Linked DNA regions of Homo sapiens: regions 1, 2, 3, 4, 6 and 7 are each linked to region 5. The links are contacts of gene promoters, found by promoter capture Hi-C in blood cells and fetal thymus (Javierre and others, 2016). All regions are on one chromosome and are shown on one strand. Each heading gives the region's core, a stretch centred on a gene start or on the middle of the fragment in contact. The rest is flanking DNA. Distances are from core to core; before and after follow the strand shown. Region 1 holds the start of LHFPL5 (LHFPL tetraspan subfamily member 5). Region 2 overlaps LOC285847 (a long non-coding RNA gene). Region 3 holds the start of CLPSL2 (colipase like 2). Region 4 overlaps FKBP5 (FKBP prolyl isomerase 5). Region 5 holds the start of PPARD (peroxisome proliferator activated receptor delta). Region 6 overlaps FKBP5 (FKBP prolyl isomerase 5). Region 7 overlaps ARMC12 (armadillo repeat containing 12).

Evidence for each region. Contacts are between HindIII fragments. The CHiCAGO score rates a contact against its expected background, and 5 or more counts as called.
Region 1: a contact is called between the fragment with the promoter of LHFPL5 here and the fragment with the promoter of PPARD in region 5, in 3 of 17 cell types (fetal thymus, activated CD4 T cells and total CD8 T cells). The highest score is 5.9, in fetal thymus.
Region 2: a contact is called between a fragment that was not itself captured here and the fragment with the promoter of PPARD in region 5, in 2 of 17 cell types (naive CD4 T cells and naive CD8 T cells). The highest score is 6.1, in naive CD4 T cells.
Region 3: the fragment with the promoter of CLPSL2 here is called in contact with the fragment with the promoter of PPARD in region 5 in 9 of 17 cell types (total CD4 T cells, erythroblasts, naive CD8 T cells and 6 more); the score reaches 9.4 in total CD4 T cells.
Region 4: a fragment that was not itself captured here is called in contact with the fragment with the promoter of PPARD in region 5 in 1 of 17 cell types (non-activated CD4 T cells); the score reaches 5.6 in non-activated CD4 T cells.
Region 6: a contact is called between a fragment that was not itself captured here and the fragment with the promoter of PPARD in region 5, in 1 of 17 cell types (naive CD4 T cells). The highest score is 5.2, in naive CD4 T cells.
Region 7: a contact is called between a fragment that was not itself captured here and the fragment with the promoter of PPARD in region 5, in 7 of 17 cell types (naive CD4 T cells, naive CD8 T cells, activated CD4 T cells and 4 more). The highest score is 11.6, in naive CD4 T cells.

The regions. Positions count from the first base shown.
Region 1 is chr6:35,803,378-35,807,050 of GRCh38, forward strand. It overlaps LHFPL5 (LHFPL tetraspan subfamily member 5), which reads left to right and starts at 1,975. Exons shown (of 4, transcript NM_182548.4): 1 at 1,975-2,705. The coding sequence starts at 2,294. RefSeq lists a silencer at 1,844-2,013. The HindIII fragment of the contact is 6,136 bases long and covers 1-2,096 here.
Region 2 is chr6:35,723,719-35,727,105 of GRCh38, forward strand. LOC285847 (a long non-coding RNA gene) reads right to left here. Exons shown (of 10, transcript NR_027117.2): 10 at 3,044-3,387. It also overlaps a transcript of FKBP5 not described here. Among named protein-coding and RNA genes, the nearest start is that of ARMC12, 12 kb to the right of the region's middle. RefSeq lists a silencer at 2,124-2,300. The HindIII fragment of the contact is 3,649 bases long and covers 1-3,338 here.
Region 3 is chr6:35,774,537-35,777,850 of GRCh38, forward strand. CLPSL2 (colipase like 2) reads left to right here and starts at 2,062. Exons shown (of 3, transcript NM_207409.4): 1 at 2,062-2,166; 2 at 2,923-3,045. The coding sequence starts at 2,083. RefSeq lists a silencer at 2,043-2,172. The HindIII fragment of the contact is 8,503 bases long and covers 1,854-3,314 here.
Region 4 is chr6:35,669,844-35,673,164 of GRCh38, forward strand. The region is part of intron 1 of FKBP5 (FKBP prolyl isomerase 5); the gene reads right to left. Among named protein-coding and RNA genes, the nearest start is that of MIR5690, 6.7 kb to the left of the region's middle. RefSeq lists a silencer at 2,263-2,462. The HindIII fragment of the contact is 2,635 bases long and covers 1-2,620 here.
Region 5 is chr6:35,341,308-35,344,841 of GRCh38, forward strand. It overlaps PPARD (peroxisome proliferator activated receptor delta), which reads left to right and starts at 1,251. Exons shown (of 8, transcript NM_006238.5): 1 at 1,251-1,374. RefSeq lists silencers at 1,103-1,312, 1,493-1,632, 1,663-1,712. The HindIII fragment of the contact is 7,732 bases long and covers 545-3,534 here.
Region 6 is chr6:35,642,924-35,646,640 of GRCh38, forward strand. The region is part of intron 1 of FKBP5 (FKBP prolyl isomerase 5); the gene reads right to left. Among named protein-coding and RNA genes, the nearest start is that of MIR5690, 20 kb to the right of the region's middle. The HindIII fragment of the contact is 3,770 bases long and covers 30-3,717 here.
Region 7 is chr6:35,742,749-35,746,277 of GRCh38, forward strand. The region is part of intron 3 of ARMC12 (armadillo repeat containing 12); the gene reads left to right. Among named protein-coding and RNA genes, the nearest start is that of ARMC12, 7.5 kb to the left of the region's middle. The HindIII fragment of the contact is 7,406 bases long and covers 1-3,529 here.

The sequences.
Region 1 (3,673 bases), core at 725-3,224, 460 kb after region 5:
GCGGAGGTTGCTGTGAGCCAAGATCATGCCATTGCACTCCAGCTTGGGCAACAAGAGTGAAACTCTGTCTCAAGAAAAGTAAAATAAAAATAAAATAAAATAAAATAAAATAAAATTGTACATACATCATCCAATTGTGTAAAGGAGTATGTTCAGAAGGGGGAAACTGCAGAGATTAACAATGGTAATAATAATAATCACCAACATTTTTGAGTACTTTCTCTTTTTTTGTTAAAGCCCAGACTGGAGTGCAGTGGTGTGATCATGGTTCACTGCAGCCTCGACCTCCTGGGCTCCAGTGATTCTCCCACCTCAACCTCCCAAGTAGCTGCGACTACAGGCAAGCACCACCATGCCTGGCTATGCCTGGCTAAGTTGTGTATTTTTTGTAGAGACGGGAGTCTTGCTATGTTGCCCAGGCTAGTCTAGAATTCCTGAGCTCAAGTGATCGGACTGCCTGGCCTCCCAAAGTGCTGGGATTAGAGACCACTAATGTACCTTTGAGCACTTTAAAAAAAAAATTATTATTATTATTTTTTGAAATGGAGTTTTGCTCTTGTTGCCCAGGCTGGAGTGCAATGGTGCGATCTCAGCTCACTGCCACCTCTGCTTCCCGGGGTTCAAGCAATTCTCCTGTCTCAGCCTCCTGAGTAGCTGGGAATACAGGCACCCGCCACTACGCCCGGCGTAAGTGCATTTCCTGCATTTAATAGATGGCGAAACTGAGGCTCCGGAAGGAAGGTTAAGTCCATGGATGGTTACTTAGTAAGTAGCTCATTCAAATCCAGGCCTGTTGAACCCCAAAGTCCATGTTTTTAAGATTGTCTTGTCTTTCCTTAGCTCCGGACGTTGGTGTTATTATTATTATTATTTTTTTTTTTTTGAGACGGAGTCTTGCTCTGTCACCCAGGCTGGAGTGCAGTGGCGCGATCTCGGCTCACTGCAAGCTCCGCCTCCCGAGTTCACACCATTCTTCTGCCTCAGCCTCCCCAGCAGCTGGGACAACAGGCGCGTGCTGCCACGCCCGGCTAATTTTTTTGTATTTTTAGTAGAGACGGGGTTTCACTGTGTTAGCCAGGATGGTCTCGATCTCCTGACCTCATGATCCGCCTGCCTTGGCCTTCCAAAGTGCTGGGATTACAGGCGTAAGCCCCACGCCCAGTGGAATTTTCCTAGTTCTTTACACTAGCCATGTATTTACCTATAAAATCAGGAGAAATATGTATATATATAATATATTAAAACATATATATATTTAAATGGGGAAATATGTAACAAACAAATAGAAACAAGGGGAGAAAGGCATTGTATTTGACAAAACACATATGTTCAGGTCTGAGAAGGCTCATAAAGAATGTTGTCTGCTATACTTTGTAGTTGCTTCTGTTATCACACAATCAGTCTGCATATACAGGCGTTTTATATATATATTTATATAGACTACATATATACGTATATTATATATGTAAATATTTCACTGTCTTTGAGGACGGGGGCCCTGTCTTTTTTATCTGTGGTTTTGCTTAGATGTCCTCCAACATAATCTTAACACATAGTATGCTTTTAGAAATCGTTGACTGAATGCTAAGGACGAAAAACCGGTGACCAGAAGGCAACCAGGAAAGGCTTTGCTGACCTCCGGAGTGGTGGAGTTGGAGGTTCTGGGAAGGCGACTAGGGAGCCAGGCAGGGGCGGGGTGGGATGGGATGTGGACAGCGCTTTTGCGGGGGGAAAGCGTTTTTGCTGCTGGAATTGAGCAGTAGGAATGTGTCAGTCACATCCCCACCTTCCCAATTCTTGTCATCTCGGTTCAGGAAGGTGAACGGTGTTCCGATTCCCCGCGGCGGGGGCCTGTAGTGGGAGCTCTGCCCCTTCCCCGCCTCTGCTGCAGGCCCCGCCCCTCGCCCGGAACCCCGGGGCGCTGGCCGCGGTGCTGAAACGGCGCCCTCCGCGGACGGAGGAGGGGGCGGGGCTCTCGGGAGCCGTGAGCCGGGAAGAGGGAGACGGGCAGGGCGGCGCCAGCAGGCCCTGGTGGGCTTGGGAGGAGGCAGGAGACTGGAGACAGCCTCGGCTAGAGCGGACACAGGCACCTGGCAAGCTTTCCTTGACCAAATCAAGGTTGTCCTTGTCCTATTAAGCCTCTTCCCCTTGCCTTGAAGGGACCTCACCTGGTGCCCTGACCTCAGCCTCCTCCCCAAACCCCGCTGGGGAGTGACCTGCTTCTAGGCCTCCATCCACAAAGCTACGGACTTGCAGCCCACGGGACCCCAGCCCAGGGCCTGCTGCCCTCACCATGGTGAAATTGCTGCCGGCCCAGGAGGCAGCCAAGATCTACCATACCAACTATGTGCGGAACTCGCGAGCCGTGGGCGTGATGTGGGGTACCCTCACCATCTGCTTCTCCGTACTGGTCATGGCCCTCTTCATCCAGCCCTACTGGATCGGCGACAGCGTCAACACACCGCAGGCAGGCTACTTCGGCCTTTTCTCCTACTGCGTGGGTAACGTGCTGTCCTCCGAGCTCATCTGCAAGGGCGGCCCCCTAGACTTCTCCTCCATCCCCTCTAGAGCCTTCAAGACTGCCATGTTCTTTGTGGCCTTGGGCATGTTCCTCATCATTGGCTCCATCATCTGCTTCAGCCTGTTCTTCATCTGCAACACGGCCACAGTCTATAAGATCTGTGCATGGATGCAGCTGGCTGCGGGTAAGCAGAGATGGTGGGAGGGCAGGCAGGGGCCCACCCCGGGGCCACAGCTGCAGCTGCACCATCCCAGCCTCTGCCAGGGCTCTGGGCCTTAAATTTAGCTGTTCTCCTATAGCCCAGTCCTACTCAGTGCTCTGCAGAAGATTCTGAGGAGTTGAGAATCTTAAAATGGCAGAGGCAGAAAAGACCTTAGAGACCAAGCTGTCCAACCCTCTCATCCTACAGATGAGGTTCTGAGCCCAGAACCTCATCTGAGCCCAGAACCTCATCTGTAAGGGGAAGTGACTTGCCCAGGAGCACACAGTTGCCAGTCCTGATTCCCAGGCCATCACATCAGTTTTTGCAGCTGTGAGAGAGAGAAAGAAGGAAGCTTCCATTGTTGGCCATGTGGGAATAGGACTCAACCCTAGCACAAAGTAGTGACACCAGTCAAGCACATTCTAGATGCCTTCATCTCCCACCTCTGGGCTTTTGTTCTTTTTAAGAGTGCCCAGAACTCTGTCCTCATTCTCTCTCTCCCACTCCAAACTGCTCTCAGATTCTAAGGTCTCTTGCTGATTTTGGAGTGTTACTATTATGCAGGGTATGACCTTGCCTATAGAAACTTTCATCTAAATTCCCCTCTTTCATTGTGGAGTGAAAGTCTTTTTTCCTTGATCATGGGATTTTATACTTAAGGCAGCAAATGGAGTGATATTTTGTGAGGTAGAGGAAGCTATTTAGGGTCCTTTTGTTGTTGTTGTTGTTTGTTTGTTTTTTGAGACAGAGTCTCACTCTTTGGCTCAGGCTGGAGTGCAGTGGCATGATCTCAGCTGACTGCAGCCTCAACCTCCTTGGACTTAGGTGATCCTCTCACATCAGCCTCCCAAGTAGCTGGGACTCCAGGTGCGCACCACCATGTCTAGCTAATTTTTTTTGTATTTTTTGTAGAGACGGGGTTTTGTCATGTTGCCCAGGCAGGTCTTGAA
Region 2 (3,387 bases), core at 264-2,763, 380 kb after region 5:
ACAGACCAACTAAATACATTACGTCTGGGGTCCCTGCTTCATCCCCTGGGGGTAGGCAGATAAGGCTGGCACGGGCAGTGTGGTGCTGTGGTCCCTTCCTTGGGTGATAGGGCTGAGTGAAAGCCCACACATCATCAGGACATCCTGGAAAACTTTTCCTCTCTTAGCTCAGGAGAGGCCCTGTGATAGGAAACAAAGTACCCCAGACAGCAACTACAAACCTAGTTTCTTGCCCTTAGGCAAGCAACTTAGCTGCTCTTGCTTCAGTTTTCCCAGCAGGAAAGCGAGTCTGATTCTTACTTTAGAGGCATATTAAGATCATACTGAGTTAAGGCAGGTACATTAAATGTACACAGCCTGATATAAGTGCCAGGGATTGACATAATGGTGGTGCTTTCTCCCAAAGGCCTGCTGTAAACGGGTCCTAAGAGAGGCCGTGTCACTGTCACTGGGTGCTGCAGATAGACCTGACTTCAGAGCCCTGGAACCCAGGCTCAGCCCCTGGTTTTTGGATCCCAGAGCCAAATCAATACAACCAGGAAGTTTATTCCTGGGTGAAGGGTGAGGGGCAGCAGGCATGCCAGCCAGCCAAGAGACACACGGAGCCCACAGCCAGCAGGCCTGACTGTCCAACTCCACTGCTGAGACTGTCCTCTGGGGCCTTGCTAGTATCCAGATTTCAGCCTGTCGAATGGGCTAAAAACAATTTTCTAGCTGTCAGATCACACCTCAAGGCATGCAGGAGCTCCAAGGAGGCAGAGTTCTCCTTCATTTGAAGGGAGAAGGGAGTAAGACTCTGAGGCTTGAGAAATGGAGAATTTGCATTTTAGTTACATAATCTGAGCAATCTTGAAGACTATTTTGAAGTGCTGGCTTTGGCCAGGTGTGATGGTTCACACCTGTAATCCCAGCTACTTGGGACGTTTACTCAGGAGGCTGAGGTGGGAGGACTGCTTGAGCCCCAGAGGTTGAGGCAGCAGTGAGCCATGATCTCCCCACTGTACTCCAGCTTGGGCAACAGGGTGAGACCTTGTCTCAGAAAAAAAAAAAAAAAGGTGCTGGCTTTGATGTCAGACAGACCTGAGTGTGAATCTCAGCTGAGCTCTGTTATTTTTCTGAGCCTCAGTTTCCTTAACTGTCAAAGACGGCTAACAATAGCACCCACACCCCAGAATTGTTGTGAGGAGTAAATGGGATCCTGTAAATAAAGACCTGAACCTCAACCTTGGGTCTAGTAGTGAGTCTCCTGTGCCACAGTCTTTGGGTTCCAAACGCTGTTGGGGGTTGGTGTGCAGAGATAGTTCTCCATATAAGCAATCAAGATTAGCCATCAATGTGAATAATAATATCCCATGCTCCTGGGGGAGAAAGGCCAGATCATAAACGTATTGATCTCTCAATATCTAAGCCACTTTGAGGAGATTAAACTGGTCACAACTCAGAAAATCATTGAGAAATCATCAAGTGTCAAATTCCATTAGGAATGTGTGACTCCTGGGGGTGAGAGGATGGGTAGATCCCCCTCCCTGCCGCGAGGCCCCCACCTCTGCCTCTGTTCTCTGTGACTGACAAGGAAGGATCTGTGATTACCAGGTCTGCCGAGCTCTTGGAGGCAACTTACATAGTGCTGTCACTTGTCTAGCTGGGCTCAGGAATATTGCTAAAAGGCTTGGGAAACAAGGCTGGCAAGGGGAGAGGGATCAGCCTCAAGGGTCCAGAGAAACTCCAGACCTGGTGTGGAGACTCCACAGCTTTAGAGGCAGTTTCAAGGCTGGGTGATGGGAGAGAGAAAGGACTGGGGGCTTCACCCTTCTGGAGTCTAACTTCTCCAGGGTCTCTCTGCACCCCACCTTCCCACCCCCAGCAAGAGTTTAGAACCTAAAGACGGGGAGTGGGAAGCAGGAGACTCATTTCTTGATCCATGGGGAGTTGGGGAGCCCAAGTGGAAGATGGGGAGATGAGAGCAGGGGTAACTGACAGCAGGATGCCACAGCTAAAGAAGGAAGTATAAATATAAAGCGGCCAGTGTAGGACTGGACAGAGGCCATATGAAACACACGGTACATTCCGGTCCCAGCGTAACAAACTGTACCAGCCTTTTTGAGAGCTGTGAGCACTAAAATGGGGAGGGAAGAGAGCAGAGGTTCCTTCGAGGTTGGCCCTGCCTCCTCCTCCCCCACTTCTCCCACAGCTCGGGGCACCGCAGGGAAAGTCCTGATGTTCCTTTTGCAACCACAGGAAACCTACCATCCCTGCTCACACTCTGTACCCTGTTCCTCTCAGCAGCTCCAGACTGGGAGGGAGCAATGAGTGTGTATGCATGGGGGTGTTTGGGGGAATGTAGGGTGCAGACAGCCCCAGCAGCCCAGGTGACACCCGGAAAGGCGGCAAGCATCACTTGGATACTGACTGGAAGTCACAGCCTGTAAGGGCTGCAAGAGAGGTACAGATGACGGTGAGGAAGTGCCTTGTCCAAGGTCACACAGGCAGTTGTTCACCAGGGTGGGACCAGAGTGCATCCAGAACTAGGCAGTGCTGGGCAGCTCTCTTGGGTGTAGTACGTAGGAGTGGCAGGCCAGAGAACAGGCAGTGCCCAGGGACTGAGGGTGGGGAGCCCAGATCCAAGGCTGCCTCTATGCTCTGGTTGGCTTTGGGAAGGCAGGCCTGGCTTGGGCACTGTGCCCTCCAAGCCTCCCAATCCTATCCCCCCAACCTTAAATATTAGAGATAATGCATGTGAAGTGCCTAGCGTGGAGGTTGTTTTGTGGTGATGTCAAGCAGAATGAGTCACGTCCACCCCTCCCATCTCCTCCTCCTCCACACACACACACACACACACACACACACACACACACACACACACAGCTCAAGGCCTAGAACCTCCTGGGATCTTTCTCCCATATCTTTCTCCCTAGAACCACCTTCTTTCTTCTGAGTCCCTATAGCTATTACACACATTTGGTACTCACCACCTGCTGGCTTGGGTTATTATTTAACCTAACATCCAGCGTGTTTGTCTCTTCAATTGCCCAAGGGGAGGATATCATTTCAATACACCCAATATTTATTGAACATGAACTCCGGTGCCAAGCCTGGCCTGTGGGGGATGAGTTGGAATGGTGGTGGGAGGCGGGGGCAGTGGAGGAGAGGGCTCAAAGAAGAAGCAGACTTTGTTTCTGCCTCAAGGACTTTCTAATCTGGTTAGAAGAACAGGATTAGTAAACAGATCGCTAGAATATGAGACAGGCCACACGCTGTGCCGTGAGAAAGGTACAAACTGAGTGTGCTGGGCGTTCAGAGGAGACAGGAATCAGATTTGGCTGGCACTGTTTCAAGGAAGCTTTATGAGCTGGAGCAGCAGAGATGGGTAGACAGGGAGGACAGGCA
Region 3 (3,314 bases), core at 812-3,311, 430 kb after region 5:
GAAATGATAGTAGATGCTAAATATTCCAAGACTCCTTTGAATTTCCCAGCCTCCCTTGCAGAAGGTTAGAGGGTTGGGATCATGTGACTAGTTCCAGCAGGTGGTTTGTGAGTGGAGAAGGCAGGTCTTCCATGGAGACCTTGGATGCTAGTTTTTTTTTTTTTTTTTGAGACAGGGTCTCACTCTGTTGCCCATGCTGGAGTGCAGTGGCACGATCATAACTCACTGCAGCTTCAGCCTCCCGAGTAGCCAGGACTACATGCATGTGCCACCATGTCTGGCTAATTTCTTAAATTTTTTTTGTAGCAATGAGGTCTCACTATATTGCCCAGGGCTGGCCTTGAACTCCTGAGCTCACGAGATCCTCTCAGCCGGGCATGGTGACTCCCACTGGTAATCCCAGCACTTTGCGGAGGTTGCAGTGAGCCGAGATTGTGCCATTGCACTTCAGCCTGGGCAATAGCGTGAGACTCTGTCTCAAAAAAAAAAAAAAAAAAAAAAAAAAAAAAAACCAAAAAAACCCCCAAAACAACTGATCCTCTCTCCTTGGCCTCCCGAAGTGCTGTGAATACATGCATGAGCCACCATGCCCAGCCAGAGGCCAGTCTTATAGATGGCTACAGGATGGAAGAAGGGTATCTTGCCCCAAATCAGACTGTACATAAAGCATTATTGTGCCAAGCCACGAAATTCCAGGAGTTCTGTTGTTACAGCCAGTGTTAATTACTCTGTGACAGCTAGTGTTAATACAGGGAGGGCTCACGGAAATAATGGATACAAGGCCCTCTGAGTGCGGTGGGGGCTGTTATTCTTGGCTGTTATTCCCCACCAAGACAGGATTCCTCGGTTCATTTCTTAAGCGAAACTTCAAAAGCAGAAGCAGGCTGGGAGTGGTGGCTCACGTCTGTAATCCCACCACTTTGGGAGGCCGAGGCAGGAGAATCTCTTGAGCCCATGAGTTCAAGACCAGCCTGGACAACATAAGGACAACCTGTCTCTATAACAAATATTAACAATACAAAATTAAAAAAAAATAGAAATTAAAAAAAAGCAGAAGCAGGCAGGTGGGGTGAGGTGGAAGCTTCATCCATAGGGAAGTCCTGAGGAAGGCCTGCCTCCCCCGGTTCCAGGATTGCTCTGTGCAGCTCTAGCTCTCCCTTAACCCTCCTCCCTATTCTGAGTTTTCTTCTCTTCCCACTTCTCCATTTTGCCCCCACATCTTGACTTTCACACAATTCACAGACAAATCCTTAGACAATTAATAGAATGATTAAGACTGCAAGAGATTTAAGACTTAGAGACCATCTTGTCCCACCTCCTGGTTCTTACAGAAGAGGAGAATGGGGCCTGCAGCGGGTGTGAGCAGCCCAGAGGGTGGGGCTGGATTATCCCGAAGGTAAGGGGAGAATCTGGGGCTGCAAGGGCAGACAGAGAATCAACATCAGGAAGGAAGCTCTTTTTATTTCAGCATATATGTTTTGTGCCGTTTATAAAAATAAAGTTTTGAGGCCAGGTGCGGTGGCTCACACCTGTAATCCCAGCACTTTGGGAGGCTGAAGCAGGACCATCACTTGAGGCCAGGAGTTAGAGACCAGCCTGGGCGACATGGGGAGACCCCCGTCTCTACAGAAATTTTTAAAATTATCCCGGCGTGGTGGCGCACACCTGTAGTCCCAGCTACTCGGGAGGCTGAGGCAGGAGGATCACTTGAACCTGGGAGGCGGAGATGGCAGTGAGCCGAGATCACGCCACTGCACTGGGCGACAGTGCGAGACTCCGTCTGTAAAATAAATAAATACAATAAAATAGAGTTTTATCTTACAATAAAAATAGAGTTTTATCTTACAGTTTCAAGCTTCTACTTGGAAGTAACACGTATGGAGGCTCCCAGGGCCCCTACAGTCTGGAATCCCGCCCGTGCGAGCCTGAGCGCCTTTCCTCCCTCCTTCCCTTCCGCAGGCGTCCTCGCCCTCCACGTCCCTCCTCCGCCGGGGTGGCCTGGGGCGCCGGGTCACGTGGCCGGGGAAGAGGTTTTATCCCGCGGCCCCTCGGAACCCCGCCGCTGCTCTGCCGCCCAGGCCCATGGCCGCAGCCCTGGCGCTCGTGGCGGGGGTCCTGTCGGGGGCGGTGCTGCCCCTCTGGAGCGCGCTTCCGCAATATAAAAAGGTGAGCCGGGGAGCGCGCCCAGCCGGCCGCGACCGCAGGAGAGGGTGGCCCCGCCGCCGGGGCACTGGAGCCCGAAGGCGCCGGGCAGCCTGAAAGGGAGAGGTGGGTCCGGAACCACACCCAGGCGGGTAGCCTGGGGCATCCTCAGACGGACTTCAAAAGCCGCTTCACTTTCCCCTGGTGGCCTCAGAGGGGAGAGAAATTGGCCTATGACCAGCACCCTCGCTCCCTCCACCTCCCCCGCCCGTGCCCCTTCCGATGGCCTCAGTCCTGGGCTCGCTTCCCTCCCCAAACTGCTCACAGGCAAACCCACCCTGCATGCTCTGGTTTCTCCTCCTCTTCTTCCACCTCCTCTCACTGTCTAGTGATTCTTCCAGGCACGAGGGCTCTCCCCTTTTCTCCTCTTTCTCTCCCTCTTTTTCGAGCCCGCAGCCCCTTCATTCTCATCCCCCAACCCTGCCCCGCAAAATGGGACTTAAGAGTACACACCCCATGGGACTCATGGAGGTGAGGGGGGTCCAGGAAAGGAGAGGCCGAGGGAAAAGTGCTAATCCCCCTCTCCTCCTCTCTGCTGCCCTGGGTCCTGCTGAGGGGCCGGGGTGGGGCTGGGGGGGGAACCAGCCCCCCAAGGGGTGACAACCTCATGACTTCTCCTGGATCCCTGGGCTCTTTGGCAATGGTGGGAACCCTCCCCTACCCGCCCACACGACTCAGGGATTGCTCCCAGCCTGGCAGACATTCTGCCTGTCCCCACAGAAAATCACAGACAGGTGCTTCCACCACTCTGAGTGCTACAGTGGCTGCTGCCTCATGGACTTGGACTCCGGTGGAGCCTTCTGTGCCCCCAGGGCCAGAATAACCATGATCTGCTTGCCCCAGGTGAGGCCCTAGTATGGGGCAACTTCTGGCAAGTAGAGAAGCGGGCAGGGAGGTTAAAAAAAAAACACCTGGCCCCACCTGTTTTTTCACCTCTGTCTGGAGTGCCCTTCTTCTTCTCCACTTGGCAAACTCCTACTCATGGTGCAAAACAACTCCAGCCACCTCCTCTGAGAAGGCTTCCCTCCTTGGAGCTCCTGTACCCTGGGGTCAGACCCTCAGCAGACCATGTATCTCCCTAACTGGCCATGTCTTTTCTCTGCCTCTCCCAG
Region 4 (3,321 bases), core at 53-2,552, 330 kb after region 5:
ACAATAACTATAAAAGTCACCCTGTTTCCTTTTTTCTCTTGCTTGCCAGGAAGCTCAGAGCTAAATTTAATGTTCAAACACAGAAACTATCTTGCCTCAGATTACTGGTATAAAGATTTCTTCCCATTCCCCCATTCTGCTCATTATTTCTCAAGTGATTTATGCTCATTTTCTGTCTTTGTTTTTAATGGTCTTTGCCTGTTTTGCTTTAATCACAAACTATCAAATCCTTTTCAATGAATAGGTTAATATAAATTATAAATTAAAGAAAACTTAATGACCTTAGTTTGTATCTTCACATCACTGCATAACTTGTTAATGCAATTTATAAAAAATGAAGGTTCTAAAAGGTATCTTTGCTGTTTTAGAGTTAATTATTTCACATGAATCATGATTCACGATTCACTTTTAGAAAAGCCAATGACAATTTTTTTAAATAAAAGAATGATAGAATGAAACAAGGATCAAAACTTAAAATTACTAAATTAGAGACACAGAATTAGGAGGATTCAAAATTTTTTAATGTTTTAAATTTACTAACAAAATTGGTCTGGCAAAGCTAGATAACTATCATAAAAAATTAACTTACATAAAGTGTATTAAATTCTCAGTGGGCACGGTGGCTCATGCCTGTGATCCTAACACTTTGGGAGGCTGAGGCGGGTGGATCACTTGAGGTTAGAAGTTCGCCCTGGCCAATATGGTGAAACCCCGACTCTACTAAAAATACAAAAAAAAATTAGCCGGGTGTGGTGGTGGGCACCTGTAATCCCAGCTACTCGGGAGGCTGAGGCACAAGAATCGCTTGAACCTGGGAGGCGGAGGTTGCAGTGAGAAAAGATCGTGCCACTGCACTCCAGCCTGGGCAACAAAGCAAGACTCCATCTCAAAAAAAAAAAAGAAAGAAAAGAAAAGAAAAGAAAAACTCATATACTGCTATCTGTGTCATTAGCTGCAGAGTAGACAACAGGTATAAAAATATTGAAATAGCCTAGGAATCTAAGAAAAAGGGAAAAAACTCAGTCACATATTTAAAAAATATAAATGCACACATACACATGAAAATATCTCATATATGGTAATACCAAAGTTTGTTAAATGGAGGTAAAAGCAAAGTATTAATGAAATTAATAAGCCAGGTGCAGTGGCTCATGCCTGTAATCCCAGCACTTTCTGAGGCCAAAGTGAGACGATCCCTTGAACCCAGGAGTTTGAGACCAGCCTGGGCAAAACGGTAAAACCAAACCCTGTCTCCACAAAAAATAGAAAAGTTAGTTGGGCATGGTGGTGCACACCTGTAGTCCCACCTACTTGGGTGGCTGAGGTGGAAGGATTGCTTGAGCCAGGGAGGTAGAAGTTGCAGTTAGCTGAGATCGCACCACTGCACTCCAGCCTGGGTAAGAGAGTGCAATCCTGTCTCAAAAAAAAAAAAAAATAATAAATAAATAAACAAAAACAAGTTAAAAGAAACTACAATCCAAACTGACAAATCTAGCCAAAATCTTAAAAAATATATCATGAATTACAGAAAATCTAGAATATAGTCATATTAAAAATGGAAAAGTGAAATGAACACATTTTATAAAAGAAAAGACAGCCTATAAAGCGCCTAACATTATATTAAAAGGTCCCCACTTTTAGGAGACACAAATAAAATGAAAATAAAGGGAAGGAACAAGGTAGCCAAATAGTATCTATAAAATGAAAGTGAAAAAGTCAATTATCCCTTTCTCTCTCAAGGTATCAGAATTGCAGGGTAAATACCTAAAGAAGTTAAATTACAAAAAACTTCATATTCTAAGAATGAAGTTAACAGCAAAATTTATTACTATGTAAATTTAAAAGGCTAGCAACCACCCATAAATACAGTTTTAACATATTTTTTTCAAACAGCAATAAAATAATTCAACATAAGAAAACATTTAAAAAATAGAAACAGAAGTTCCAACACAATATATGAAGGGGCTAAGAGAAACCTACACACACAAACTCAGCCCTCAAAAGAACCCTAAAATCTAATTTAGAAGAATTTTTTTTTTTTTTGAGACGGAGTCTCACTCTGTCGTCTAGGCTGGAGTGCAGTGGCGCGATCTCGGCTCACTGCAAGCTCCGCCTCCCGGGTTCACACCATTTTCCTGCCTCAGCCTCCCCAGCATCTGGGACTACAGGCTTCCGCCACCACGCCCAGCTAATTTTTTGTATTTTTAGTAGAGACTGGGTTTCATTGTGTTAGCCAGGATGGTCTCGATCTCCTGACCTCATGATCCGCCCACCTCGGCCTCCCAAAGTGCTGGGATTACAGGCGTGAGCGACCGTGACCGGCCACTATCTTCTCGCTTAATAGCATAATTAGAAGATAAAATTTGTTATAAAGGGTAATCATCCAAATACAAAACAAGTTACAGATCAGAAAAGGGGGGAAAAAATCCCCTTTTACCTTCAGAAAAATGAAGACAAGAAAAAGAAACCAAACCATGAGAAATATAAATAATCTGATACAAAGTATTGAGGACATGGAAAAAAGTTTTGTATAGGCATTTGTGAATTATACAATTCAACTTCAGTGTTTAAAAATAATAAAGAAAAATTAATATTTCAGTAAAAATCAATCTAGTCCAGAAGCTTGCTTTTTTTTTTTTTTAAAGAAATAATGTGGCAGATTGCAGAGGTCTACGACATCTTTATGCATCCCAGGCCACTTTTTACCTCTCTAATCATGGGAAAGAATACACAACATGAAAAGCTTACCATTTGCAAAATGATTTCTTGATTATGCTTATGGCGACTAAAAAGTATTTGTGGCTGGAGGCGGTGGCTCACGCCTGTAATCCCAGCATTTTCGGAGGCTGAGGCGGGCGGATCACAAGGTCAGGAGATTGAGACCATTCTGGCTAACACGGTGAAAACTTGTCTCTACTAAAAAAAAAAATACAAAAAATTAGCTGGCGTAGTGGCAGGCGCCTGTAGCCCAAGCTAGTCGGGGGGCTGAGGCAGGAGAATGGCGTGAACCTGAGAGGCGGAGCTTGCAGTGAGCCGAGATCGCGCCACTGCACTCCAGCCTGGGCAACAGAGAGAGACTCCGTCTCAAAAAAAAAAAAGAAAAAAAGTACTTGTACATTATGCAAATGTTCAAAATGCAGAGAGGGCAAATGTATTTAAACATACGTTTCCAGGGAAGAAAAGGAAGTGATGTGATAGTGAATTGGTGATTGGGAATTAACATTATATAAGAGAAAAAATTACCAGCCCTGTAAAAAGGGAAGAGAATATTTATTGAGCAACTGGTATGGCCAGACGCTAAGCTTAGGGCTTTATACCTTC
Region 5 (3,534 bases), core at 1-2,500:
GGAGGTTGACATCTAAGTTACAAATATAATGCACAAGCATTTCAAAAAGTAGGGGAAAAAAAAGAAAAAGAAAAAGAGAAGCAGAAAGAAGGGGGAAAAAATCACTCATCCCTGCCAGGCACGGTGGCTCACGCCTGTAATTCCAGCACTTTGGGAGGCTAAGGTGGGAGGATAACTTGAGTCCAGGAGTTCAAGACCAGCCTGGGCAACATGGCAAAACCCTGTCTCTACTAAAATTACAATAATTAGCTGGGCGTGTGGCGCATGCCTGTAATCCCAGCTACTTGGGAGGTTGAGGCAGGATAATCGCTTGAACCCGGGAGGCGGAGGTTGCAGCGGGCTGAGATTGCGCAACTGCACTCCAGCAGGGGCGACAGAGTGAAACTGTGTCTCAAAAAAAAAAAAAAAAAAAAAAATCACTCATCCAGATAGCTAGGTGTGGCCTAAGGAGCTTGCGGCCTACGGAAGGTGTGGCCGAAGGAGAGGGGAGGGGTCATCTTTAATGATGATGGAGGGGAGGCATTGGTCATATACCTGAGAGTCAAGCTTTGTTCATCGTCAGATGAAAGCCAACTTCTTCCACCAGATTGCCTCCCAGCTGCTAGGTAGTTTCCTGTGGTACATCTTAAGCGGTAGGTTGGGATAATAGGTCCCTTCCAGGTCTTAAAGATGTGGATTAATAAGAACAGAATTTTCTACAACAATAAGGAGGATGTCCCCTATTTTAGGTGAATAAGCGTATTGCATAAGCACATGGGAAGAAAGGTTAAGAACTCTAAGACCGTAAATTTCCAGTTGTAGAAGCCTCTTGAAGGCGGAAAGCCCTTTTTTGAAAATTATAGGCGATATGATCTCCTCCAGTGGACCTAGCACTGGGTTAAGAGTCTCTCCAGACTTGTCACTGCAAGTCACGTACCTTTTCTAGGACTAAGTTTCTTCACTGGAAGATGAGGAGGTTGCACTAGATGACCTAGAAATTCCCTTCCAGCTTTAAATTCCCTCTTGTGTCACTTGCTGGACTTGTTCTACTGGACCTGGCGCTCCCCTGCTCCTCCCTTAGCTGCTACGTCCGCATCCCGCACCAGAGGGCGCCACAGGCTGGCCCGGGGCAGCGTGCGGTGGGCGGAGAGGCAGAATTAGGGGAGTCTCCAGGAGGCGTGGTGATTGGCCGCCGCCGGGCGGAAGGGGGCGTGGGGAGGGAAAGGCCGAGCAGCGCGGTGACGTCTCGCTGGCGGGGGCGGGGCCGGGCCGCGGAGCGTGTGACGCTGCGGCCGCCGCGGACCTGGGGATTAATGGGAAAAGTTTTGGCAGGAGCGGGAGAATTCTGCGGAGCCTGCGGGACGGCGGCGGTGGCGCCGTAGGCAGCCGGGACAGGTCAGTCCGAGACGAGAGAAGCGGTCAGGCAAGTGGCGGAGGGAAGCGCCGGGCCTGGGCCGAGGCGGCCAGCGGGACTGGGGCGCAAGGCCCGGCGGCGGGGAACGGGGTGCGGGGAGCTGCCGGGGTCCGCGGACAGCGTCACGGCGGCTTCCTGATGCTCCGGCCCGCTCCGGTCAGCCGTCGTGCGTTGCCATGTAGGCGCCCCGCTGACCCTGCGCCCCCCCGCCCTTGGACCCCCATAGCTGCTTGAGTGAGTCCGAAATACGGGCCTCCTTCCACCCTACTCTTTGCCCCCTCTTGGGCCTGGTGGCTTCGTCTTCTCCCACTTGTGAGAACCCCGTCTCAGGCCCGGGGGCCTCTCCCATTCCCCTCCCCTGCCTCTGACCTCTTCCTTCACCCGTTTCTGGTGTTCCTGAATCCACTGCCCTATCTAGCGAGAGTCTTCTCTGGGATCTTTTCCTCTGTCCCCCTCGTTATCCTTGTCTCCTGCCTTCATCCTCCCATCCTTGCTCTCTCAGGCTTTACTCTCTCTCCCCATCCCTGTCCCCTTCTTATCTGTGGTCTGATCCCTCCTAGTATTATGGGTCCCCATCCTCTTCCCCAGGGTGTTCCTAGGCTTTTTCCAACTCCGTGCCTGCAGTCCCTGTCTCCCTAAGACTCTCACCTTGGTTCCCTGAGAGGCCCTGTTTTTGCTCCTTTTTCCGATTTCCTTCGTATCAATTCTGTCCCCTACATTCCTGTCGCCCACCTCCTTTTCTCTCCCTGTTCCTTTCCCCTGCTTCAGGGAGAAGCCTTAGCTCCACACTCTACTCTACTTTCACTTGACCTGCAGTTGACATAACCATGGGGTGGGGGTGGAGGTGTTCAGACCTTGATCGAATTAAGAGGCTGATTGACTAAAGGAAATAACAGATTGTGTGGGAGAATGTACGTGGGTGTTGCATCAGAGATGATGTCCAATTTGTAGGCCATTCTTCTTATCTCAGCTTTAATACTTCCCCTTTATGGGGCTGTTGACTTCCAGGAACCCTTGGGGGAGACGGCGCTGAGCTGGATGTGTGCCACGGGTAGCCGGAGGCTTTGTCCAATTCTTTTCCCCTTCCAGGAACCGGGGTTTTGTGTCTTTCCACTCTGGATGTGTGGAATACACTTATACCATGATACCCCAGCCTCTCTCTGCCCTCACTCCCACCCTCCACCCTGTGCTCCATCCGAAAGGACTAAGAGAATTCTCCAGAAGCTGTGCTCCAGAAAATACTTGTGGTCCTCAACCTTTTTTCTGTGTACTGGCTCCAGAACTTTTTTTTTTCCCGTTTGAGTTTTGAAATAGATTGCTGGCCTGATAGCCCTGGGGCTGGCGGGCATCTGTCCCCTTTTATTATTGGTGGCTTGAAACAGCTGCTGATTTTCTCTCATATCTCTTTGACAATCTTTGGCCAACTGAATGTGCCTCTGATGTTGGTCACTGAACATGTTCTCTTGGAGTCTCTTCTCCCTCTTTTTTCTTTGTTCTTTTCTGAATCTAGGGAATCCAAATTGTCCCTCTTTTTCCCTGGGAGCTTAATTTCCTCTGTATCCAGGAGGAACGGCAATCCCAGAGCTCTGTTCCCTTTGCCCAGGCATAGTATGAGGTATCAGATTGATAACTACCCTGGTGGGCTGTGGGGCTGCAGTAGTTAGACCTTGTCAGGAACTTGAGCAGACACATCTGCTTCCAGTCACATAGATCATCTTCTCTGGGGCTTGAGAGCCCACCACCTTCCATGTGTGTCTGGATGTTTAACCTTACCAAGCAGAAGATTCTCGTCATATCCTTCAGTTTGAGCTCCTTTATTTGGCGTTGGTTCTCTAAAGAAGTATTCAAGAAATAACATATCCTTTGTTTCTACCCAGTCTGATCTTGGAGGATTCTGAAAGCGTGACCCACTCTCATGTTTAGAAATGAAGGCTCATTGTTTCACCTGGCCCCAGGTTTCTAGGGGCTCCTCTTTTGATGATTGTGCTGTCTTTGAGCCAGATTGGACATGGGAGTTGGCAACCTTTAGGAGCTGCGGTGGAGAGCCAAAGGAACCAGCTTGACCAGACTTTAAAGTTTTGTAATCCTCTTGTACACTGTTTTCTGTGAAAGCAATAGGATTGTGGATGGCCTGTTGTTGA
Region 6 (3,717 bases), core at 665-3,164, 300 kb after region 5:
CCTAACCTAAGATTTACTTAGGGCCAATAAGCTTAGATACTGAAAATGAAAACAAAGGCATTTGCTATGAGCATGTATTGATGTCATCAGGCATGTAAATAAAACATCATCCAATTCTTTAATTTCCCATCTAGCTCTGGTCTCAAAACAGAGAACAGTACAAGTCAAGTTGGGTAGTGATTACATTCCTTAACATAACATGGTGAGAAGCAGTCCCTTCACAACTTTGAAAACATCCTTTTTCTACAGCCATATTCTTGACAGAGGATTAAGACCTTATCAGTTCTTAATAAAAGAAGTGACAATATATCAATCACAGTGAGACACAGAACAGGATTTAGAATCCAACAGACCCAAGTCTGGGTCCTAGCTGCAGCTCTTGACATTTCCAGTTTCCTTAATCTTGCTGAGCCTTCATTTTTCATCTGCAAAATGGACACAGTACACTATTCATAGTTACAGTGAGATAACATTTCTTAAAAGATTAGCATAGATTGGTAACTTAAACATATTTAACCATTTATCATCATTATTGGGCCTTCTGTAGGGTCATTTTTCATCTCCTGCCCAAAATACCTACAGAATGTTCTTCCATGTGGCATTCAAGGCCCTTCACAATCTGGCCCTAATCTATCTTTGAGTTCTAGCTGCCATTATTTTATTTTACTTTCTTTCATGCAGCTCATGCTCCAGCCAAACTAGGCCAATTCCACCTCTACAACAAACCCAGTGCTTTCCCATAGTCATTCTTCTGGTCACTCCCTTTCTTGTTTCCAAAACATCCACCTCTCTCAAATCCTACTTCTGTCATACCAACCTTGACCCTCTATTTGTAGGCCATTTTGCCCTTTTACGTACTTCCTTAGCTCTTCTCTCGATTTGTTGTCTGTAAGAGATTCATAAGACTATGCGCCTGTTAGGTTTAAAAGATCCTTCAGAGCAAGGTCCATGCTTTGTTCATATTTAGATTCCCTAGAATGCCTCTACCTTTGAGAATGGTAAGACAAAAAGTGCAAGGAATTTGTAATGGAATTTGGGGGTGTTCTTCCTCTGCTCCTTACAAGCTGTTTGATGTTGGCTACCTTAACTTCTCTAAGATTTTTTCCTTACCTATGTGATTAGAATAAAAATATCTGTTTTCACAGATAATCTTCTGAAGTGGTATAATGTGTATTTTTAAGGTATACTATTCAAATGTTAGCTCTTATTGTTATTGGTAGTCACCTGACAGACATTTTTTCATGCAAGGCAAGCCAATGTAACCAACAGGCTAATCATAGGCTAAGCAAAACACACCTAACCACTGCCATGATGAATTCCACACTGCTCCCTGTTTGGGCAGGGAAAATCAAGAAGGAATCACTCCTACAGCTATTACACATTAGGCTAATAACAAACTTAATGCCCCCTAAACTCATCTCCTGAGCCTTCTTGTCTACAGAGTCAAAGAGTCTTTCTGCACTTGCAGAAAATGTCTTATTGATACAACTATAATTAGACAACTAAAACATATACTGTAGTGTTTTAACTCATTTCCAAATGACCACTATTCAGTTCAACAGAGACACAAATCCAATTGTTGTGCCCCAAAATCTTCAAATGAGAACACCAAAAACCAGGGGCTAAGTCTCTCTGCTCTAGTTTCTAGTACGCTTTATACCAAACATGAAAGATCCAAATGTTTGGCTCAGGATAAGCGAAAGGCCAGAACAATCGTTCTCAAACAAACAACAAAAATTATGTACCTAGCTCTACATGAGGTGAGCTAGATAATCAGGAAAATCAGAAGAACGGGATTGGTTCCCAGCTTCTAGAAACCCACTGCTTATAATATGCTTCTGTGATGCACAGAAACTTGTAAAAGGCACCTTGATAACAGAGGGAAAAGATCTCTTAAATATTTGGAGGGTCCTGGACTGTATGCCTGGGAAAATATATGCACACAAAAAAATTTCCTGGGGATTCACAGAGATGCTGACATCCATCAATAGATCTCTGGGTGTAAAGCACTGAACAAATGAAAACCACCAGGTGAGAGGTTATTGGGAAAGTACCCCACAGATTACTTATTATTAAAAAAGGAAAAAGACCTTTCAAGTAAAACAATCTGACTGATAACACTTTAACAAATGATCTGCATCATAACCAAACTCTGCATCACCAATAATGAAAAAAAGTGCTATTACTCTGTCTCCTAATATGATGTAGTGATGTGATTTAGATGTGCTATCACCTATGTGCTATCCCTATCAAAAATGTTTAACCTGAAACTAACCAGGAAGAAAAGACAAAAACAGATTGTGGAGCACTCTACAAGACCATTGGCCTACACTCCTGAAAAAATGTTAACAACATAAAGAACCAAAAAGGTGGCGTGCACCTGTAGTCCCAACTACTCAGGTGGCTGAGATGGAAGGACTATTGATTGAGCTCAGGAGTTTGAGACTGCAGTGAACTGTGATCATGCCACTGTACTCCAGCCTGGGCCGAAGGGTGAGACCCCATCTCTTAAAAGATAAAAAAAGAGAGAGAAAGAGAGAGAGGGAGAGACGGGAGGTCTGTTCCAGATTAAAGGAGACTATAGAGATATGACAACCAAGTGTAATCAGTGATCCTTGGCTGGATCCTGGATTAGGGGACAAAATATAAGAACTTGGAACAGGAGACTGCATATTAGCTTATTACTACTATATGTCAGCCTTTTGGAATGTGATATAGTATTATGGTTTTATGCAGAGTAATATCCTTGTTCATAGGAGACACATGCTGTAGTATTTAGGGGTGAGGTGTCATGATATCTGCCACTTGCTTTCAAATCATCCAAAGACAATGCTTTCTTTTGAATGTTCATCATTTGGAGTTCAGCTAAATTTTTAAATGAAAATACTGTCAATGAAGAAATGTTTTCAGGCTGGGAACAGTGGCTTACGCCTGTAATCTCAACACTTTGGGAGGCTGAGGCGGGTGGGATCACTTGAGGCCAGGAGTTTGAGACCAGCCTGGCCAACATGATGAAACCCCGTCTCTACTAAAAATACAAAAATTAGCCAGGCGTGGTGGCACACGCCTGTAATCCCAGCTACTCGGGTGGCTGAGGCACAAGAATCACTTGAACCTGGGAGGCAGAAGTTGCAGTGAGCCGAGGTCATGCCACTGCACTCTAGCCTGGGTGACAGAGCAAGACTCTTTCTCAAAAAAAAGAGAGAGGAAAAAAAGAAACATTTTCTTTTGGTTCTCACCTTGCTATTTTGAAAACAATGGCTTGTTTAAATTCGAGTAAATAGGCAACCTGTATAAGCTGATTTACTAGCTTTCTAAATCCCATTTGATAAAGGAATTAGCTCTTCATGTTTTGGCTCCAACACTTCAAGGGATGCAAGTCATCTTAGTAATCTCAGAGGATGGCTCTTGTCAGTAGTACTGAGTCCATATGAAGAGAAGTACTATGAATAATTAAAACACAAAGATAAAAACAACAAGAAAACAAACTTTTGAACTTTCAAAAGCAGATAAAGCTGGAAGAATAAAGACATAAACTGAATTTTCCAAGTATTTCCCCTTAATTCCAGTTAAGCCATTAGGAGTATAGGTTTTTGTAAGCTAACAAAACAAATAAAACTTTTTCCTTGATTGAATGTTATATAAAAAAGACAGTAAGGACAGACAATTCCTAAAAACTGTAATGACACACTGAGACAGTTTCACCATTTTTATAAG
Region 7 (3,529 bases), core at 499-2,998, 400 kb after region 5:
ATGGGCAGCTGCTACTAGGCATATCCACTTAGATGCCCTCCAAGTTCTCTAACCCAACATATCCAAAATGGAGCTCACCCCATTCCCTGAATCAGCCCACTCTCTCCAGAGGGCTCTTAGGCCATCAGGCCCTTTGGGTCTGCCTCAAGGCTCTCAGCATAAAGTGCGTGATTGGCCATGGGCTGCACCTCCTTGCCCTAACCCCAGCCACGTACAATGCATGCTTTATGCTCTCACATGCCCCCTTGCTGCTGTTCCCTCGTTCTGAAACCCTGTCCCAGACTTGCTGACTCCAACCTGTCCTGCGGGTCGCCACGGCTTTTGAGGGGTGGGGGAAGGGAAGGGCAGGTACTGATGGGAATGCTCACTTCCACTCCAGGACTCTTGCTTACTTCTTACATGGCTCATAAAGGTGCAGCTCGTGAGGTTACCTGTCTTTGGTAATGCCTCTAGGTCCAAGCATCTTACTTTTTTTTTTTTTTTTTGAGACGGAGTTTCGCTCTTGTTGCCAAGGCTGGAGTGCAATGGCGCGATCTCAGCTCACCGCAACCTCCGCCTCCCGGGTTCAAGTGATTCTCCTGCCTCAGCCTCCCGAGTAGCTGGGATTACAGGCATGTGCCACCACGTTCCGCTGATTTTTTGTTTTTGTAGTGGAGATGGGGTTTCTCCATGTTGGTCAGGCTGATCCTGAACTCCCAAGCTCAGGTGATCTGCCCACCTTGGCCTCCCAAAGTGCTGGGATTAAAGGCGTGAGCCACTGCGTCCTGCCCGCATCTTGCATCCTAGAACCGAAGATCCCTTTATTCACTCAATAAATGTAATATTGAACACTTTGTGCCAACACGCTGCTCTAAGTACAGGAGAGAAAGCAGTAAACAGAACAGGGAAGATCCCTGTGCTTGTGGAATTTATATTCTAACAGGGCAAGGCAAGCAATACACAAATAAGTAAAATATATAGTGTGTTTCATGTGGTAAGTGCCATGGAGAAAAATAAAAGGCGGGGGGTGGATAAAGGAGTCTGGGTGGGGGTGATGCAGTTTTCAAGAAGAAAATCTTGAACCCAGGAGGCCTGTAATCCTAGCTACTCAGGAGGCTGAGGAAGGAGAATCACTTGAACCCAGGAGGTGGAGGTTGCATTGAACCGAGATCACCACATTGCACTCCAGCCTGTTTGATGGGAGTGAGACTCCATCTCAAAAAAAAAAAAAGAAAAAAGAAAAAGAAAATCTTTTGAGATGTTGGGCTTGGTGAAGAGTTCATGACATCAAAAGCATGATCTATAAAAGGAAAATCAATACATTGGACTTTATTAAAATTAAAAACATTTGCTCCATGAAAGATCCTGTTAAGAGAATGAAAAAAGCTGCAGACTGGGAGAGTGTATTTGTTTTTGTTTTTGTTTTTGTTTTGAGATGGAGTCTTGCTCTGTCACCCAGGCTGGAGTTCAATGGCACAATCTCGGCTCACTGCAACTTCCGCCTCCCGGGTTCAAGCGATTCTCCTGCCTCACCCTCCCAAGTAGCTGGGATTACAGGTGTACACCACCATGCCCAGCTGATTTTTGTATTTTTAGTAGAGACGGGGTTTCACCATGTTGGCCAGGATGGTCTCGGTCTCTTGACCTCTTGATCCGCCCACCTCGACCTCCCAAAGTGCTGGGATTAGAGGCGTGAGCCACTGTGCCTGGCTGAGGGAGTATATTTGAAAATCACATATCTGATAAAGGACTCAGCTAAATTGTATCAAGTGCTTTCAAAACTGAATGTTAGGCCAGGCATGGGGGATCACGAGGTCAGGGGTTTGAGACCAGCCTGGGCAGCATGGTGAAACCCCATCTCTACTAAAAATACAAAAACTAGCTGGGCATGGTGGTGGGCACCTGTAATCCTAGCTACTCAGGGGACTGAGAAAGGAGAATCACTTGAACCTGGGAGGTGGAGGTTGCAGCGAGCCGAGATCGCACCACTGCACTCCAGCGTGGGCAACAGAGTGAGACTCTGTCTAAAAACAAAAACAACCCTGATGTTAAAACAAGCAGTCCAATTAGGAAATGGGCAAAATACATGAACAGATATTTCACTGAAGAGGATATATGGATGGCAAATAAGCACATGAAACCATGTTTAATATCACCAGCCATTAGGGAAATGCAATGAAGACCATGCTGAGATATTACTGTGCACCTATTAGAAGATCTAAAATCAAAATTAGTGACGATACCAAATGCTGGCAAAGATATAGAAAAACCGGATCTTTCATATATTGCTGGTGGGAATATAAAATGGTACAGCAGCCACTCTGGAAAATAGTTTGGCAATTTCTTTCAGAACTAAACATACATTTACCAATTCAGCAGTTGAACTCTTGGGCCTTTATCCTAGAGAAATGAAAACTTATATCTGCACAAAAACCAGTACACGATTGTCGATAGCAGTTTTATGTGGAATAGCCCCAAACTGGAAACAACCAAAAATGTCTGTCAATCGGTGAATGGTTAAACAAAATGGTATAGCCATTACCATGGAATGCTACTTAGTAATAAAAAGGAATATAATATTGATATGCACAACAACTTGGATGGTTCTCAAGGGCGTTATGCTGAGTGAAAAAAGCCGATCTCAAATGATCACATAAAGTGTGATTTCATTTATATAACATCCTCAAACTTAAAAGGTCATATATAGAGATGGAAAACACAAGTGGTTGCCTGGGCTTTGGGCTGGGGGAGCAGGTGGGAGTGAGTCTAAAGGGGTCTCTTGAGATAGATCTTTGTGGCAATGGGACAGTTCTGGTGGGATAATCTGTTGGCTGCAGTTGTGGTTACACAAATATGTGCATGTGCTGAAATGACATAGAACTATGCACACATATTACACCAACACCAATTTCCTAGTTTTGCTATTATACTATAATGCAAGATGTGACCATTGAGGGGAACTGGGTGAAGAGCACATGGGACCTCGCTGTACTATTTTTGCAACTTCCTGTAAATTTATAATCATTTCAAAATAAAGGCCGGGCGCGGAGGCTCAGGCCTGTAAACCCAGCACTTTGGGAGGCCGAAGTGGGCATATTACCTAAGGTCAGGAGTTCAAGACCAGCCTGGCCAACATGGCGAAAACCCGTCTCTACTAAAAATACAAAAATTAGTTGAGCACGGTGGCGTACACCTGTAATCCCAGCTACTTGGGAGGCTGAGGCAGGAGAATCGCTTGTACCTGGGAGGCAGAGGTTGCAGTGACCCAAGATCTCACCACTGCATTCCAGCCTGGGCAACAGAGTGAGACGGTCTCCAATAAAATAAAATAAAATAAAATTAAATTAAAAAACAAAATTAAAGAAATGAAAATGTGTGTTACACGTGACAATGCTGTAGAGAAAAATAAAATAACAGTGGAGGGTGGTAAGGAAGGCTGGGATGGGGGTGGTTAGAGAAGGCCTTACTGAGAAGGTAACATTTTAATGAAGTCTTAAAGGAGGTGTGAGAGTGAGTTGTGAGTATCTGGGGATAGAGTGTGCTAAGCAGA